Linked DNA regions of Homo sapiens: region 2 is linked to region 1. Evidence: promoter capture Hi-C in 16 types of primary human blood cells and fetal thymus (Javierre and others, 2016). All regions are on one chromosome and are shown on one strand. The core of a region is centred on a gene start or on the middle of the fragment in contact, and the rest is flanking DNA. Distances in the headings are between cores, read along the strand shown.

What was found. Contacts are between HindIII fragments. The CHiCAGO score rates a contact against its expected background, and 5 or more counts as called.
Region 2: a fragment that was not itself captured here is called in contact with the fragment with the promoter of RMC1 in region 1 in 1 of 17 cell types (total CD4 T cells); the score reaches 5.9 in total CD4 T cells.

Annotation. Positions count from the first base shown.
Region 1 is chr18:23,502,245-23,505,695 of GRCh38, reverse strand. RMC1 (regulator of MON1-CCZ1) reads right to left here and starts at 2,185. Exons shown (of 20, transcript NM_013326.5): 1 at 1,976-2,185; 2 at 1,249-1,325. The coding sequence starts at 2,077. RefSeq lists enhancers at 1-228, 1,474-1,573 and a silencer at 1,824-2,473. The HindIII fragment of the contact is 15,374 bases long and covers 1-3,451 here.
Region 2 is chr18:23,991,874-23,995,094 of GRCh38, reverse strand. It overlaps TTC39C-AS1 (TTC39C antisense RNA 1), which reads left to right. Exons shown (of 6, transcript NR_110796.1): 6 at 616-882. It also overlaps a transcript of TTC39C not described here. Among named protein-coding and RNA genes, the nearest start is that of LINC02958, 11 kb to the right of the region's middle. RefSeq lists a silencer at 531-590. The HindIII fragment of the contact is 925 bases long and covers 1,145-2,069 here.

The DNA of each region.
Region 1 (3,451 bases), core at 936-3,435:
CTCTTCACCACACATGGCTCGCTGATTGCTACTCTCCATAGCATCCCTAACTCTGACAGGCTCCCAACTAAGCCAGCCTCCGTGCTGTGAACAGCATGATCTTGCCAAACACTGACATGATCATCCCACACCCCACCTGATAAGTTTCAATAAGAAGATAAAGCTCTAATTTCATAGGAGAATATGTAAGGTTCAAGCTGGCCCCTGCCAGTGGCCACACCACCACCATTTCCCCTTCCCTGTGGAGACACCCTATGTAACCTTCAGTTACACAGACCCAGAGTTCCCCAAAACACCATGCTCGAACCCCATCCATACTTTAAAACCTTGCTCAGGCCGGGTGCAGCGGCTCATGCCTGTAATCCTAGCACTGTGGGAGTCTGAGGCGGGCGGATCGTTTTGAGGTCAGGAGTTCGAAACCAGCCTGGCCAACACGGTGAAACCCCATCTCTACTAAAAATACAAAAAAAATTAGCCGGGCGTGGTGGTGGGCGCCTCTAATCCCAGCTACTTGGGAAGCTGAAGCAGGAGAATCACTTGAACCTGGGAGGCGGAGGTTGCAGTCAGCCAAGATCGCACCACTGCACTCCACCCTGGGGAACAGAGGGAGGCTCCCTCTCAAAAAAGGACAGTTTCTCATTAACACAGACCAACAGTAAAATTTTTTAAGTCACTACTGAATTGAGGGCCTACATTATACTTTCACCTTCTGTAAGCACCAGTGTTACAGTGGCCAGATAGCTTATCATCCAAATCGAGACACTTCTGAAAGTGAAAGGCCCTGCTGTTGATCATTAAACCTGTTCAACAGTGCGAACTGGGACTATGCAGTCACCTTAAGTATAGTGGAAGCCATGATTTTCTTGTATTATTACATGAGAAACAATGAATCTCCTCCACCTGCCACTCTGGAAAGACCTGGGCTAAAGAAATGAACGCCCTCCTCTGTGAACAAACCAGAAATGGGCACATCATCACGCTGACTTGTTAATTTCCAGTGCTAGGAAGTGGCTGCCCCACTTTTGAAGTATTTGGCTCCCAAATCAACTGCTCCAGATATTCCACTCTGACAAGAGGTGCTAGTAAGTGCCACGAAGACCCTCCCTACAGACAGGAATTCCATGTGCGCACACAGACTTCAGGCCTCTTAGGGCAGACCAAATGACAAAATTATAAAAAACCATTTGAATTAGAAAAACATCATTCTGTTTACATGACAAAATGATCTGAAAGTGTCTATACCATTACCTAAATGAGATGGGATTCCTATCATCTGGGCCTTTAACTACCACGCCAGTAGCTCCACCAGATCGAACAGCAAAAACCTGAGAGGGAAAAGCAGCAAGGTTAACAGCCTGAACTCTGAAAGGATCTAAACTCAGAAGCCAACCCGCAAGCGATTATTTCTGTTATACACCACCCTGGGTTCAACTAAAGTAACACGGCACATATCAAGGTACAGATGTTTGGCTGCTCAGGTGAATTTTAAAAACCAAGAGCAGAGAGCGAAAAGGATGCCACCGTGACACCGGGTCGGGTTCCCGAGGCTCCAAGTTCTAACACCGGTTCGCGCATCGGCGCCGCTGATACGCCTGAAGTACAGTCTTTTCCCCCTTTACAAAATTTCAAGGAAAATGAAAATCTCGACGTCTAAACCCTTGACTACGAGTGTAACTAATGACAAACACAACAAAAGAAGCCTAGATAAGACGGGCGCGCCAACAATTGAGACACTGGCCACGGGGCCACTGCATCCGCGCAGCTGGCTCGGGGGTCCAGCCCCGAGGTCACCTGCGAGGACACCTGGCCGCGGCTGAGCCCACCCAACAAGGAAGGAGCGCGCGCCGCCTCCCGCGCTGGGACGGGACGGGACAGGACAGGAGGGGACGCTCGGGCCTGGTCGCGCGGGACCGGCCTTGGCGCGCCCACGACCCCGGCAGGGCCGCGCGGGGGAGGAAGCGCGGGCGCGCCGGACCTGCTTGTTGGCCTCATCGAAGAAGACGCAGTTGACAGGGTTCGCCTTCTCGAACTGCACCGGCCGCTCGCACAGCTCCAGATAGTAGTCCTCCTCGCCCATGGCGGGCGCCGCGCCCGCGGCGGGGGCCCCGGGGGCGGTCGCCAGAGTGGAGCAGGATGCGCGGTGGAGCCCGGCCCGGACTGTAGCGGCGGCTGCGGCTGCGGCTCTGGGCCCGGCGCGGACGCCGCTTCCTGGTGCCACGCCCCCACCCCGCCCACCACGTGACCCGCGGCCCTCTGCGCTTAAACGGGCAGCGTCTGGCTGCGGTGGGGCCCACCGGCCTTAACCACGCCCCGCCCGGCGCTGGAGGCTCCTCCCCTCTCCCCGAGGGCGGTCGGAACGCGGCGGCGTGACCCGGAAGCCCGCGTGGTTCCCCGCGGACCGAGGGCGGCGTAGCCGCCAACCCTACCCTGCTGCGAGTTCCTGTGCCCGGCTCGGTCGCCCCTGCCCCAACCTGTACCCCCGCGTGGGACCGCTCCCGGTCTAGGAAAGGCTCCTCCTTGCTTTCGGGAGGATTTCCCAAGTGCCTCCCGCGCCAGAGTTCCAGCCTCTGGGAGCTTCGTCAGGGAGAAGGGGCTGAAGGCTCACTGAGCAGGTGTAGGGGCGCCAGAGACCGTCTCCAGTCCCCTCAGCGCTTCTGCGGGCTCTTCCGCTGGAGCCAGAAACCGAATTGACAAGAGGCAGATAAACAAAAGAAAAGCATACACACTTTATTAGTTTTTCATGGGGACCTTCAAAAGAGAGTGAGGTCTGAAGAAGTGGCCACAGCAAGATGCTTTTATACTTTTTAGACAAAGAATGATGCATTTGAGAAGAAAGCACAAAAGGCATCTGGCTGGGGCGATACATTTCTAAGAGAGTCACTAGGAGAAATATTGGGGAGGGTGTAAAATTAGTGGAAGGTAAGTGTTACTTGGGAAGTTCATTTATTCAGGTCCATTGCAGCCCCAACTCCCAGTCTCTGGTGATAAGGGCTATTTTCTGACCCGGGTACAGAGAGGGTGCCACTCCCAGAGGAATCTTTACTGCTTATTCCCTGTAGGAAACGACAGGTCATCTAGCCCTTTCTGAAACTACAATTTCTCCGGTGTTTTTAGCTCAAAATAATATACCAATTTTTGGACATATTTTGGGATAGCACATCCTTCACTCCTTGCTAGTAACAGGGAAACCTAATATAGATTGTGGGTCAGCAAGCCTTTTTACTTGATAAGAAACATGAAATTTACCATGTTAGCCCCTCTTTTTTTGTTTGTTTCAGAGACAGAGTGTCTCTGTGCCCAGGCTGGAGAGCAGTGATGCGAACACGGCTCACTGCAGTCTCAACCTCCCATCTCAGCCTCACAAGTAGCTGGGACCACGGGTGCATGCCACCACACCTGGCTCATTTTTTTATTATTATGCTTTGTAGAGACAGCGTTCTCTGTTGCCCAG
Region 2 (3,221 bases), core at 358-2,857, 490 kb before region 1:
GATACCATAAAGGCATATCTTTGTGATGAAGGAATAGTTCTGTATCATAATTGCAATGCTGATTAGACAAACCTACACACGTGATAAAGTGACAGAGAACTATACACACATTTTACCAAAGTCAATTTCATGGTGTGAGATGTAACCATTAGGAAAATCTTGTGGATTATAATTATTATTATTTTTTTTTAAAAAAAAGGAAAAGATCCTGATGTCCAGGCCACTCCCAGACCAATGAAATCAGAGTCTCTGAGGGTGGAGTTCACGCATCAGCGCGTGGCCCTGGTGATGACTAAGTGCAGCCAAGTTGCAGTTTATTATAAGGCAGTTCATAGATGCTGCTGCTGCTGCTGCTAGCATTTCATCTGCTGAGAATCACACTCAGTAGCAACAGCCGTCCAAGATACAGCCCTGCGGGGCTTTGAGTGTTAACGTTGGGTGCATAGTGATGAGGCTTTTTTAAAGCCTTGAAACGGGGCCAACTGGTAATACCTAAGGAACGTAAGTACCATTCAGTGTGTTTGTGTAAGCCCTGGCTATGAGGGGAGGGGCGAGTGGGGGAAGCACATGATGTTAAACTAGGCTAATGGGTTTAATTTTCCTTTGTTTTCCTAGATTTCCTGGCAAACAGAAAAAGCTCTCTTGGTCTTTAAAGTTCATGACAGATTCCCTAAGTGTTTGTAAAACATCTGCCAACCACACTGATGGGCTCTCACACAAAGGTTTTGGAAATACAGACTGATTTCCTTTGGTTACTAAAACTGATTTTTTTTTTTTTTTTTGGTTACTACAATTGATTTTATCTCTATAATTTTCTTCTCTGTCATCTTATTTTAAACAAAAACCGTGGCACAAAAATAAAGTGATGGTTTTTGAGGAAAACATATCTATTTGTTTTTCTTTTTGTATCTTCAGCCAAAACATCTAAGGAATAATAATGAAAATAATAGAAAATCTTTTGCACTGGGAAATTGTTTCCCTCTGTTTTTAGCCTTCATTTATTTTTTTGCCAGAGCTTCATATCTTTTCAGAGATTCATGTGCATAACAGTTTTAAATGTTTTCCAAAATGAACTTCTCCAGCTGAATCTCAGAGAAGAAAGCTTTGTTAATGGCAACAATTCATTTAAGATTAATATGAAGCTTTCTGGATGATTGTTGGTGATGTCATATGAACCATTAGGGTGGTGCAAAAGTAATTGCAGTTTTGCCATTAAAAGCAATTATTTTTGCACAAACCTAATACCAAAACATCTAATGTCAAACTATGGTCCATTTCTATTATATTTCCCAAGACAATTAAATTAGTATATAATTTTTTTCATAGATTTTCAGTTTATAATATGTAGTGAAATTAAATAATTATCTAGAATAGCATTGCTAATTGTGACATTACTTAAATATTTATGAAAAATAAACTTTGATCTGGCATTTCACTCACAGCTGGTCAAGGCTAGTAAAAGATGAGATTCTAAATTTCACAGCTGGAGGCCTACATTTCGATCTTTATACAAGATTTAATGAAATTCACAGTGACATTTTTAGTTATTTTGATACATTCTCAACCAAGTAGGAGTACAAGATCTATAAGTGAGGGTCTAGTAAATTATTTGATATGAAAAGGGGTCCGTGTACTTCATAATAATTAGTCATAACAAGTGCTATGGCATTTATTGAGCATCTGTGTGTGGACATTTTGTTATTGTAGATATTTTCTATTAACCTGATATTAATGCATGTCTTTACACCCAACCCTCCAAGGGATACTATGCAAATGCTTTAACATCTGGCATTTGTTGAAAAATAGCAGAGATTTTAAAGAATGGCACTGAGAAAGTCTTGCCACGTTTTTATGGAAATCCATTCTGGAAGCATTTCTTTCCATTATATGTCTTGTCTATTTCATATTGAAAGCCCTTTTATCACAGCTTCAATTTGCGTTAGTATTTTACCATCAAAGATGAACTTAGCCAGTGCAATGACAACATGATAAAAACATAAAATGATACAATGATTCTTCTTGTTTATCACTTACCCTGTCTCATTAAGCCACTTACCACAAAAGAAGCTTGAGATTTCTTAGGAGCAAGATTTTAGAATTCTTAGGACTCAGCCTTTCTGAGCCAGTGGCAGGATAGTTGCTTCTAAAGAGGCTGTGTGTGTAGGTGCTGGAGGGGTTAGGTCTCCAGGAGGGACAAGATGGGCAGCTGGAAATAAATTCAGAATCCTGCCTCTGTTGTAGCAAAACTCTCCATTCTCTTTCTCACCTTTTCTCAGAACCTGCTTACATAACTGTGGTTAACCTATATGCGTAAGCATGATTAAAAAGATTGACACAGCCTGGCAGTCTTTTCTGTGCTATGCACCCAGGAGCACAGCCCTTGGGCCTGAAGCATTGGCAGCGGGCTCTGGCTCTGTGTGTGGCGCAGGTCAGTCCGGCCTGCCTGCCAATTACTCAGTAGTTATGTCCAGGGAGAAGCAAGCCATGCTTGTTAGGCAGATTGCTGCACTCTGAGCACAAAAATGTCAAGGGCACATAATTACTCCTAATGCAAAAACATAGAAAAGCTGCAATTAAAAGGCAGTGGAGCAGTGCCTTTCTTATTTCTGGAGAGACTGGAAATTACAGTAAGGCAGCACACTGGGCTTTCTCTGCCTCCTAGTATACACAAATATTTTCAATTAATTACAACGTGTAATGGTATATTTATTTTTGGATCTCCTGTCTCCCCATAGGCTTCATGTGAGCAAAGACCACATGTCTGGCTTGTTCACCACTGCACACTCCCAGGACATGGTAGGAATTCAGTGACTATTTAATGAATGGATGACCACGGTATTTCAGTTTTAGGAAAGAATTTCCAAATACATTTTTCCCCATTCATTGAGTCCTTATTTAACCAAGTTAACTAGACAATACGTCCTCTACATTGTTCATGGGGAATTACTGAGCCAGACCTGGGGGAAATGACATAATATCCTATTAATTTTTTTTAAAAAATTATTTTTAATGTTCGTGGGTATATAATAGGTATACATATTTATGGGTTACATGACATATTTTGATATAGGCATGCAATGCCTAATAATCACATCAGGGTAAATGGGGTATCCATCCCCTCAAGCATTTATCCTTTGTGTTACAAACAATCCATTTATATTATTTTAGTTACTTTAAAATGTACAATTACATTATTTTTTGCTATAGTCACCCTGTTGCGC